Regions from separate parts of the Homo sapiens genome. Here region 2 is linked to region 1. The links are contacts of gene promoters, found by promoter capture Hi-C in human tissues and cell types (Jung and others, 2019). All regions are on one chromosome and are shown on one strand. The core of a region is centred on a gene start or on the middle of the fragment in contact, and the rest is flanking DNA. Distances in the headings are between cores, read along the strand shown.

Region 1 (6,000 bases), core at 1,034-3,533:
AATTGTCTTTTTACTCTTACAATCCATAATTGCCTGTTTTATTGAGGGAGCTGTTATCCTTTGTGTTTTCAGGCCATCTATCTTCCTTAAGAAAAGCTGATATAATAAACCAGCTTTGTAAGCCCTAAATATGAATCAGGTAGGAGTTCTCACATAAATAGTTTTCTGTTTAATTGCTTGAACACAGAAAAACACTGCTCAATTGAAGAAAAAAAAGAAGAAGGAAAAAGCTTCCCTTGTAAGTTCTGCAGCATTATCTTATTGCAGCAGTAAGCAACAGTTTGCCTACAAGTTGTCAGTATCATTCAACTATACATGGCAATTTGGATTTTACAACAGATGTGGCAAACTGTTACAGTTTTAGTTCACAGACCCAGAGATTTTATGATTTAAAGTTCATTTTGAGAAAGTTGTTGGTTTTTTATTTTATTTTTGCAAAATAATAAGCAGTAGTGCTGTTTTACAACAAAATCCTTTGCTCCTTTTAACCACGTGATGGTGATTTTTGTGCCAAATCTGTGCTTTCCTGAGATGTTACCAAACTGGAGATGGAATAAACACTAGAAGACTAATTCACAGGCGTTTAAAAAGTCAGATAATCTTGAGTATACTTTTTTTCTTTTTAAACTCAGAAACATTGAACACAATTTGCTTCTCATATACAAATGGACATTTATTCACTAGTGTACTTCTAAACTGTGATATGAAGGAGGTACACTTACAACCAGGGAAGCTGGCCATCATCATTTAAGGAATCCTGTCTTTAAGGGAATGGGATCCTTCCAACTGTTCGCCTGGAAGAGCTGAGAGCATCCTCTCTAGAAATCTGCCAACTTGTACACCAACCTCCAATCCAGTCCCAGCCACAGTGGTTCATGCCCCACATTGCCCTCTGCAGATAACCCAAAACGGACGATCCCAGGAAAGTGATATTTGTCGTCGTCCTTTTGTAAAAATAGTATCCATCGACTTTCCTGTATCGTGTACTGGGGAGCTTTGCGCAGCAAGCATGAGCATACGTTCTCACGCGCACTTGCACACATACACACCAACACCACCACAAACAACAACACCACACACCCCACACATTCTCACAACAAACACACGGGATGGGGATCGAATCACCCTCTGGGATGGATTCTAGACTTCCCACCCCCTGCATGCCCCAAATGCTGTGTTCTGGCTTGCCAGCTTAGGAGCCCAGTTTACAGCTCAGCCAGCCCCCAGAGAAAGCCCTTGGTATCCGTGTTCAGAAGAAAACCTATCCGACCCGTGCGGCCACAAAAGAGCAGGAAAGAAAACCAAATAGAGAAATTAACAAATAACCACGAACAGCCAAAAGCCATGCAAGATATGGGCAAAAGGCTGGAAAGTTTCAATAGAGGACTGCAAACTCAAGTTTGCGGGACTTTTTTAGACCGAAGCCCTTGCACTGAGCGTGGACTAGAAGGCACCAGCATTAATGAAAGCTTCTAGTCCTCTTTCCCCACCGATTTACAGCGTGAAGAATAGAGGCAAACTAGTTAAGACTCACTCTACAAACAAAGTTGGATGAGGGTGGTGAGGCATGCAGAAGAGGCCAAAGGGGTAAGAGAAGTGGGAGAGCCAAGAAACGAGTGTCTCACCTGGCATTGGTGCAATCGGTGAACAAAGTTTCGAAGTCTTTCCTGGTGATGAGTTTGCAGCGGTTTACCCCGGGCTGGATGGCCCCCAGCCCGCGGAGGATCCGGACCTGCTCAACAGTACACACCACGGGGGATATATCCAGTCTCTTCAGCTTGGTGTACACAGTGTGCAAGCCTCCCACCAGGTGCTTGAGAAAAAGATCAAAGACTTGCGGCAGGCAGATCAGTTCCTGGCCGTCCATCAGGAACGAAGCCACCTTCATCCCGTGCATGTCGACCATGCGGCACTCGTTGGTGTTGGTGTTGCCCCTGCCGCCGCCTCCGGCACTGTTGCTGTGGTTATTAACCACGAAACTATTGATCATATTAGGAGTAAGACGAGGGGGCTCTCTGGGAGTCGAGTACAGGGGTTCGGCCCGGAATAAGCCCCCCGGGACGCCGGCGCCGCTGGAAGTTGCAGAGATCACTGGAGATGCGGAGACAGCCATGGTCACTCTGTCTCTATCGTGGGTCCTCCGGCCCTCGCTTTCTCGCCCTGACTCCTCTAGATCCCCTCGCACTCACTCCCTCACTCTCGCTCTCTCTGGCGCGCTCTCGCTGGCTCCGAACTGTTCGCAAGTCTTCAGCAGCCGGCTCACGCTCAAGCTCAACAAACAGTGAGCAGCCCCGACCCGCTGCGGCCCCAGACCCCACCCCCACCACACCCCCTCCGGAGACTGGCAGCGTCCCACAGCCAATGGGCCCCAGCCCTTCTGCGCCCGAGCGCTCCGAATGGCTGCCGCTGGTGAGGAGGTGGAGACTCCCTGGCCGGCGTCCGACTACCTGAGTGGGTCCAGGCTCGACCAAGAACAGAGATCCAGTCCGAGAAGGGGGCGGTGTGGTGCCTCTGCTTCTTGCCTCTCTGCCAGACGAGAGAACTCCCAGATGTCACGCAGAGTTCTCAAAGTGGCCTATGCTGTGAACCCATCCGCTCCGCGCTCCGCTGGTGTCGGGGTGGAAACGCAAAGCGCGACTCCTGAACGTGCCTCCCCATGCCCCTTCCGCCACCTTACACCGGGTTAGATCGTGGAAAGTGAGGTGGCAGCTCCAATTCCACTTGCGCATCTCTCCCAAACTCTGCGGGGGCTAATAGATGGCTTCGCCTAGCTTCCGGGAGAAAGACGCTAGCGAGTTCAGAAGTAAACAGCTCAGCCCTTTAGCCCACCTAAGTGCGCTTGGTGTAAATTTTCCCCTACCCAGCGCGCAGAGGAACAAGCGTCCGAGATCATACTCAGATCAGAGTTCTGGTTGCTAACTCGCACTGACATTCAGGAAGCGTAGTGAGCCTGTGAACACTTTGGGAAACAGAGAGACTTGCTCTGTGGGTGGCAGATGGACACCTCATTTTATGGCACTTCCGCCACTGTCCTGGAAGAGACTTGTCTGTGTCCCCGTCCCTTAGTGTCGAGATTGCCCTGGCCCTACTCCCCGCTAAAATTGATAGGAAATGTTTGTTTAGGACTCAAAACAGTCATCACGGAATATGAGGAAAGGGCGAGGGTTTGCATTCTTGAACGTGCATTTTCCTTCCTCTTCCATTGGCTTTGAAGGTCCAGTGATTGGAGCTCCAGTCCTAAACAAGATTCCACTTCCCCCACTCATCAAGCGTCCCAAACGTACTAAGAGCTTATAGAACAAAATGTCTAAGCAGGGTACATTCCAGGGAAAAGGAATGGTCTTTTCCACACAGCATATGGTGGTTAGATCGCCTTAGCAAAGTTGTTTTTGTTTGTTTTGAGACAGATTCTCACTCTGTCGCCCAGACTAGAGTGCAGTGGCACAGTCTCGGCTCACTGCAGCCTCCGCCTCCGGGGATCAAGCGATTCTCCTGCCTCGGCCGAGTAACTGGGACAACAGGTGCGCGCCACCATGCCTGGCTAATTTATGTATACATATACATATATATATACACACATATACATATATATACATATATATACACACATATACATACTTTTTTTTTTTTTTGTAGAGACAGGGTTTCACCATATTGGCCAGGCTGGTCTCGAACTCCTGACCTCGTGATCCGCCCTCCTCGGCCTCCCAAAGTTCTGGGATTACAGGCGTGAGCCACCGCTCCTGGCCTAGCAAAGTTGTTTTAAGACTCCTTGTCAAGCTATTCATTCTCTAAAACCAAGATATTTCCTTTCCTGTGCTCCTCTTCTCTGGAGGCTGTTAGTTATTCATAAAGTGAAATCCAGGTTTCGTTTCTTTACAAAACGTTACCAACTACATGGCTTATGGTAACTTCTCTGATATTCTTCTAAAATATAAATAATGTTGGAAACTTACTGAATTTTATTCAGCCCTAGTTGTACTTAGCAGGATCAACGAGAAATGTGTGGGTTCTTTTTGCTCCCTTATTTAGTTACAGATACCCTAAATTGGATTTTTCTGCCTCTTTCTACAACATATTTTCTTCTTTTCTCATTTCATCAACCAGGTTTAAGAACTGCCCTTTGAATCTCTTCATACTGTTTCAATTTCAAATTGTACAGGGTTAAAATGCTAAGAAGTTGTGATGATCATTGCTTTCAAAATGCAGTGATATGACTCTAACATAATAGATTGGGATATAGGCAGCCACGAGACATTTTTAAAAGGCATCAAAATGTTTTTGCTACATCGATACTGTTGTGGGAAGAAAGTAATAAGGGGCAAAAAAAGGACAATTGAGAAGAAATAGCAAAGGCAGAAAACGCCTCAACCAAAAGTAGAAGTATCAAAAAAGAATAAAACAGCACTGACAGAAATGTTTGTATTTACCAGTTTTTAAAAAGAGAAATCCCAAATTGTATTCAACAGGTGTTTTGACTGAAATGGCTGTTAAACTATCTGTTGAAATAGCTTGCCTCTGATAACTTATTGTGATTGAAATTTCCAGGTGAATAAGTTTGGCTGTAAAGGATGTTTTATTTTCAAATGGCTCTAATTACGTTAAAAATCCTAAGGCCAAGCTACCCCTTGTATGTAGCTGTGCCCACATTATCAAGGCCTTTTTATTTGCAGAGCAATTTGGGGTTTTCAGCAATAAAACATTGCACAGATATTTTGATGTTTCAAATTTAAGAAATCTGAAATATAAAAAAAGAAAGGCAGATTATTCATTCATGCTGTAATCAGTAATTGTGAAATTGAAGAACAGACATACTTTGACAACTTTAGAAAAGGCACAAATTAAAAGTCATGTGTTTAATGAGATGTATCAGGTTTACAGTAATATTTTAATTATTACTAAAGATTACGGTTCTATTTCTAGCAGAAATACTAGAGACTCAAATTGGCCATTGATCATTGAAAGGTTAAAGTTCTTTGGAAGTTTTCAACACGCAAAAGACCCTCGGTTTCATTATTTGAATTCCTTCTCATTGCAGTCTTCTAGATAAACTTGGTAGCGTTCTTAAGTAACACATGCAATTTAAACATTTAGTCGTTTAGATCTAAGAGAGCAGGTTTTGTCTCCTTTTTTCTTGACTTTTTGATTATTCTATTTTTTATCACTACTATTTCTACTATTACTATCAGTGCTTTGAGATTGAGACAATCAATTTTACACAGAGGGTTTGTTTTTGTCCCTTTCTGATTTTAATGTCTTCCATAAGCCAAACATACTTCTAAACAGGGCTAGGTTTCTACAAGACCAGAGGAAGCCTTTCACATCAACACCCTGTAAGTTTGGAATTGCTTGATGCAATATAAAATCATAAAAAGGTGGCAGTAAACAGAGTACCCTTGGGAGATGACTCTCTATGGAGAGAGGCACTGCATTAAAACTAAGAAAATACTCAAGGTTTGTGAATTAATACAAGACAGGAGCCAACCACCGCAACAAATAACGACAAAATTAGTATAAGCAGGTACCATATCTCATCAGAAGAAGTTCTAATTCCAGTGGAATGATTTGGGGCCTAAGTGTAGTTTCCCATACACTGAAATGCTGTAAACTTCCATGACTTAATTAACAATTTACATTTTATCTTAATTCATACTCAGTTTGGAGGGGAGGGTGCTCATCTGTGATTTTAGGCAAAATATTCTACTTTGACACTGTCAGTAAAATGCAGGTACCATTTTAACTAAAAATTAAAAATACATATATTGGCATGCTTATGCAGCACTGCAAAATATCCAGAACTATTTGAAGGGACTGGTTTTCAGATCAGGCATTCAAGTAAATCCCAAGGTAATAAATGGAATTATTTGAAACCCTCAGCCAACTGAAGTTACAACCTTGAATGTGGCGGCTAATCACAACCTCCCAGGAGACCTCTAAGGTTCACTTTTAGGTAAACAATAAAAGGAAATTGGGCAAGACAATAAATGTAAAATGAAAGCC
Region 2 (6,000 bases), core at 1,072-3,571, 800 kb before region 1:
GCTTCTAGGCTAACCTCACAACTTTGTAAACATAGAGAAAAACAGTTTCAAAAATTCAGTAAATAAACATTCTCAAACTATTTGGGGCTACAGATCCACTTCTGTTGGAGTAAGGGTGATTATTATCAGAACTAGAATTGATAATAGACATAAAATAGCATATATACACTACATACTTCAGAATGAGTCAAAAAAGCTAGCAACAGTAATCTAGCCCAAACTTTAAAAAAATAAGTAGAGTTATTAGCTAGAAACTGGTATAATTCACATAATCCAAAAAATGTGTTGAAGCCACATGTCCAAAATTTGAACCTGACTCAAACGAGGGAATATAATGCTTTCAGGATACTTTCTCCCTCTCTCTCTCTCTCTCTCTCTCTCTCTCTCTCTCTCTCTCTCGTCTCTAATTACTTTCAAACAATGCTTTACTTTTTTTTTTTTTTTTTTTTTTACAATGCTCTACATTTTTCCCACAGAGCAGCAGACATATCTGCTGCCAAGTCCAGGCTCTTGTTTTTGAAACTTTGTGGCCAGACAAAAAATAGACTCTTTCTTTTCTTTTTATTTATAAGCTTTTTAATCAATCAATTTATTTATTTTTTCTATTATGTTTTGACATCTTAGATGCAATGTCAAAACATTTCAGTAAATTACTGATATGGTTTGGCTCTGTGTCCCCACCTCAATCTCATGTTGAATTGAAATCCCCAGTGTTGGGGGAGGGACCTGGTGGGAGGTGATTAGATCATAGGGGTGAATTTTTCCCTTACTGTTCTCATGATAGTGACTGAGTTTTTATGAGATCTGGTTGTTTAAAAGTATGTAGCACTTCCTCCTTTGCTCTCTATTCCTCTTGCTCCAGCCATGTAGGACTTGCTGGCTTCCCTTTTGCCTTCCACCATGATTGTAAGTTTCCTGAGGCCTCCCCAGCCGTGCTTCCTGTACAACCTGCAGAACCATGAGCAATTAAGCTTCTTTTCTTTATAAATTACCCAGTCTCAGACAGTTCTTTATAGCAATGTGAGAACGGACTAATACAATTACACTTAACATTATGACCTCTTTCATACCTTCACATTTTGAGTCAACCACTTTGGTAACATTTTGAGGAGGTCCTATAATTTCTATATTGAGTATCATGACTTCCTGGTAATTAGAAAGGGTGAATTGGGTATGTGTAAACAAGAATCAGTAGATATACATACACTACAGATATATCAGTAAGCTTTAAGTCTTAAAGTGTGCAATAAATCAATGTAAATATTTTATATATAAAAATAGTGTTAAGGAGATATGAAACAAGTTAAAGACTCTGGTAAAAAAATATTTTTAGCTATCTTTATTTCACAGATTATTGCCTGCATGTTGGAAATAAATATTTTGAGGTAAAAATTACAGTTACATTTTGCATGTTTACTTCACTGTTATAGTTTTGTGACTTTTGAGTAGAAGATGTTTATTTTGTTGCTTTAAGACTTATTTTCCTTTGAAAATACTTAAATTATGTTTCATTCTTAATTATAATTTTATGTCCACTTGCCAAAGCACTTTCCATGAGACTATATTTTTAGTTTTATAACTCAAACACTGGTAAAATACTGTCCTCTTGATCTAACTTTGTTTTATGCAACACTACTAGAATTAACCTATTCTCTGAAGTAAGAGCTACCAGTAATTCATTAATAGACTAGTTTTTGACTCATCTTCACTCAACTTAGTTTCACATGGCTACCACTAAGCGGCAGTGTAGCAACATTCTTCTGTGTAGTGTTGCTCTCACTTATTCCACTTCACATTTTGTTTCCTTTAAGAATGTCAAAGTTTTTTATTCATTCTATTTTTTAAATGGATGGGACAATGGTATTTCTGGTCTTAATTTCTGTTTTTAACTTTCAATTTTAGCTAACATTTCTGTAATCATGCAACTTATGTAATTTGTCAATTTTTTTTTGTAGAGAAAGAAACTAGTAAATCTGGTTTGCCAGCCTTTTTTTCTCTAGCTGAGCATGACAATGGGATAGTTAATTTTAAACTGGTTTTGGTACTGTCTTAGAATCAAAGCCTAAGCTATTGCTCCAGTTAGTAGAACCCATATGTGTGGTAGCCAGAAGAAAATTTGCCTTCAGTATTTTAGCCATCACATAATATTACTTCTGGAAAAGCCTGGTGGTACAGTTCACTAAGTTGAATTTTCTGTATTAATAATTACCAAATATGATCTCTGACACACTCAGAGTGCCAGAAGACACCCTAAAGATTATCCAGTAGTCCAACTCCCTCATTTTAGAATGAGATTTGATCCAAAAAATGTTCAGATTATTAGCTGTGTTCGCATATCCAGTTTATGGCAAAATCAAGACTAGGGCTGAGAAGCTTTCATTCTCAGTCCAGATGTTTTTATAATTGTTATCTCCTTGAAACTTGGGTAATGATATATGATCCCAAATAACTTAAAACTAATATTTGCACAAATGGTCATGTATTGGTCATATAAACAAAAACTTCAGATTAACTTTCTTCCCACTGGGGTAATCAGTGTTGAGAAGGCATAGACAGAAAGATCTAATTTGCCATCCAAATTGAGTATAATTTTTCTTAAGAGTCTATCATTATGTTCAAGTTTATCATTAGGCTTCACAAAGACATATTTGTAAAGTGTTTACATCTTCCAATTTGTATAGACTAACCACAAATAAAGAGTACATATAGAGTTGGTCTAAAATTGTGTTCCTATTATAATAAAAACAATTTGTTCTCTTCAACACACAGTAGTTGGATACTCTCACTCTTACATGGTAGGGTAAGAGTGTTCGCATTAGGTTTGTCACACTCCTGCAGCTCTTCTCTTGTCACAATTTAATTCCAGCAAACTATGTGTGGGTTTAGTTTTCAGTTTTGAGGTTTTAAACTCAGGAAAACAGCAATAGTTTTTTTATTAACTAACAGTAAATCATAATAAAACCTAGACCAGCTGTTCCCCTGACCAGCATAAGGTGGTACTGTGAATGTAAGTTTAATTTCTGGAACTCCATGGGAAAAAATTCAAAAAAGGGCTCTTTGCCCTTTGTTAATTGCAAGATAGAAATTCCAACAAAGTGATGAGGAATATGATTATTTTTATGAATCACTGCAGAGTAGCAATAACAAAATACCAACGGGTAAAAAATACTGCCTCAAAAAACTGCAATTGTGTGTGTATTAAATAATAATTCTCACTGAAATTAATGTAGTCTACCAAAATTTGTCATATTATTATTCATAATATTGAAAGATTTTGACGTTACTTAAAGATTTGCATTTTTAAAAATTTTAAGAGCATATATAGCTGTCTGTACTCCACCACTGTTTATTTACCTTGAATACAATTTCTGTACTTTTTGAGATTCTTGTTCTCTTACTCAGACCCAAATTGTCAATATATAAAAGCTAAATTGCTTCCAAAAACTGATTGCAAACAGATTCAGACCAAAAACAAATCAATCAAGTAGAAATGATTCTTAGATTACTAACAGTATATTATGCACTGAACAAGGTTCAAAGTTTAAAAATGTTTTCTGCATTATATTTGCTAATGATTATGTTGTGATTAGTTGCGAACCAAGCAGGCAGTGTATGTTATGTCCAAAATGAACAAAGTGGAAGGCAGATGGGTGAAAAGGTTTGCAGATAAATAAGTTACTTTAGTCTGAGATGGCCAAAGGTATCCTTCAAATGATTTAATCCCCTACCCATCTCTTAGCAGTTTGACATCCTCTAAGTTCTAACACAACCCTATCTCCCCCTACTCTACCTGCCCTGTCCAGTACAGTAGTCACTAGCCACAAGCGTCTGTCCCAATTTAAATTGTATTAACTAAAATAAATATAATTACATATTAAATTCCTCAGTCACACTGGCCATATTTTAAGTGCTCAATACCAACATATGACTAATGACTCCTGTATAAGACAAGGCAGATTATAGAGTATTTTTACTATTGAAGAAAGTTCTATTCGATGGTGCTGTGAGTTTACCAGTTAGCTTAAATAATCTCACCTGCATCATGTCTCATCTACCACTGATGACTACTTTCATGTCTCTCTCTATACCTCAGTTTCCTCATATGTTAAATGAGAACAATAATAGCTACCACATAGGCGTGCTGTGAAGATAAAACAAAACAATACGTTTCAATATTTTTTAAAGTACTGGACCCATAGTAGACCCTCAATTATTTTTAATGAATGAGAAACGTCTTCATTGTTGTTAAGAACAACACTATTGAACTCCAGCGCTGTATATTTAACAACCTACTAAATATCTACATTAGAATTTCATACAGGAACCTCAACTCAATATAGCCAAAGCGTAATAATACAGATCAAGACTGTCTTATGCATAATCACCATTTGAATATCTGAAAACAGCCATTATTTCTACCCTTGCATTACTCTGTTAAAACTACTTAGTCCCTTTAATATTTTTGCTGATGTTTTCTAAACCCCTATCATTTTTAAATGCTCAGCTTAAATGTCACTTCTTTTGTGAAGTTATTCCTGTTTTTTATGACATCTAGTAATTTGTTGAACAAACCGTCAACTGCATTCGCATTCTACTTGAAAAGTTTTGCCTTTTTGTTCACTTCCATTATTAGAACACAAGTTACCTGACCAAAAGTGCTGTTTCTTATCATGACATTCTTAAATGATAGCACAGATCCTATCACAGAGTAAGGACTAGCCAAACCCTGTTTGAATGAATATTTCACATATAAGAGGAGCTTTGAACTATGGGCCAAAAGATTAGTAGAGTTTAGATGGTGGAATAAAGGGCAAAAATGCCATTAGTGAAGCCATCATTGTGTGCAAGTGTAAAGTGCTTTGTGGGGGAGGGAGTGAATAGGCCAGTTTCCTTGGAGATGATGATTAATTTTGGAATAAATTGTAAAATGAGTAAGAAAACATTTTCTGAGTTTGAAAGAGAGGTCCACATTATCCTATAAGCAGTGGGGAGTCATGGTGAATTGGGATGGGGAAAGTAACATTATCAAAGCAAACTTTCGGCAAGATTAATCTGGAGATAATGGGATAGAATGGGTTGGGGGGACACTACAGGTGGTGAGATCAGTTAGAAGACTATTGCAGTGATCCATGCATGAGGTCATAACATCTTAGAATAAGACGATTGTGATGAGAAAGGTGAGATGAGAGAGAAGTTGATGGAAAAAGAAAAAAAAAGTCCAATATAATGAAAAGTGAGATGTCTAATGGGGAATATGGTTGTAAAATGAAGGAAAATATTTGGTTTTAGAAATACTTTGACTGAAGTACCTGATGGTCAGAGCTATGAAGGAAATATCCCACATTTTGTGCATATCCCAGACTGAAGCTTAAAAAATTTTTAGCCTAGAGAGATGGATTTGGGAATAGAAAACTTTGTATTACACATTATTAAAACCATAAGAATATAGGAGATATTTAAAGGTCAGAGAACATAGGAAAAAAATGGTCCTAGTACTGAATCTTGGGAAATGCCTGTATTTAGAATTTGGGCAATGGAAAGATGAAGCAATGGAAACTGAGAAGGAACATCAGAGAAGTAAGCACCATTTTGTGCTATGAGTACCGCAGATATTCCATTCTCTTAAGGCAATGATTCTCATTCTAACGAAATTGGTGAAAATCTGATATCGTTGGCTTAATTTTTTAACAATGCCACAGCTCTCCACAAAACTAATTATATTTTTTCTAGTAGGCTGATCAACTATATCTGCTCTGTATTCATTCTTATTTCCACTTCCCTATACTATTATCCATGCTGTTATTATTTCTCCTGAAAAATTTTCTAAGTTACTATGTTATTTTCTCTGAATACTTCAAATATATCACTCCACTTTCTTCTTGCCTGCATAGCTTCTGAGAAGTTAGGTGTAATTCTTATCATTGTTTCCCTTTTTTCCCCCTCTGACTTCTTTCAATATTTTATTCTTTAGGTTTTACTTCTTGAAGTTTGAATATGAAA

What was found. The method cuts DNA at HindIII sites, captures the fragments that hold promoters and counts their contacts. A contact is called where the count stands out against the background at its distance.
Region 2: a fragment that was not itself captured here is called in contact with the fragment with the promoter of DACH2 in region 1 in 1 of the 25 tissues and cell types used here (thymus).

The regions. Positions count from the first base shown.
Region 1 is chrX:86,144,734-86,150,733 of GRCh38, reverse strand. It overlaps DACH2 (dachshund family transcription factor 2), which reads right to left and starts at 2,283. Exons shown (of 12, transcript NM_053281.3): 1 at 1,626-2,283. The coding sequence starts at 2,113. The HindIII fragment of the contact is 5,915 bases long and covers 851-6,000 here.
Region 2 is chrX:86,942,516-86,948,515 of GRCh38, reverse strand. No RefSeq gene overlaps it. Among named protein-coding and RNA genes, the nearest start is that of KLHL4, 570 kb to the left of the region's middle. The HindIII fragment of the contact is 3,098 bases long and covers 773-3,870 here.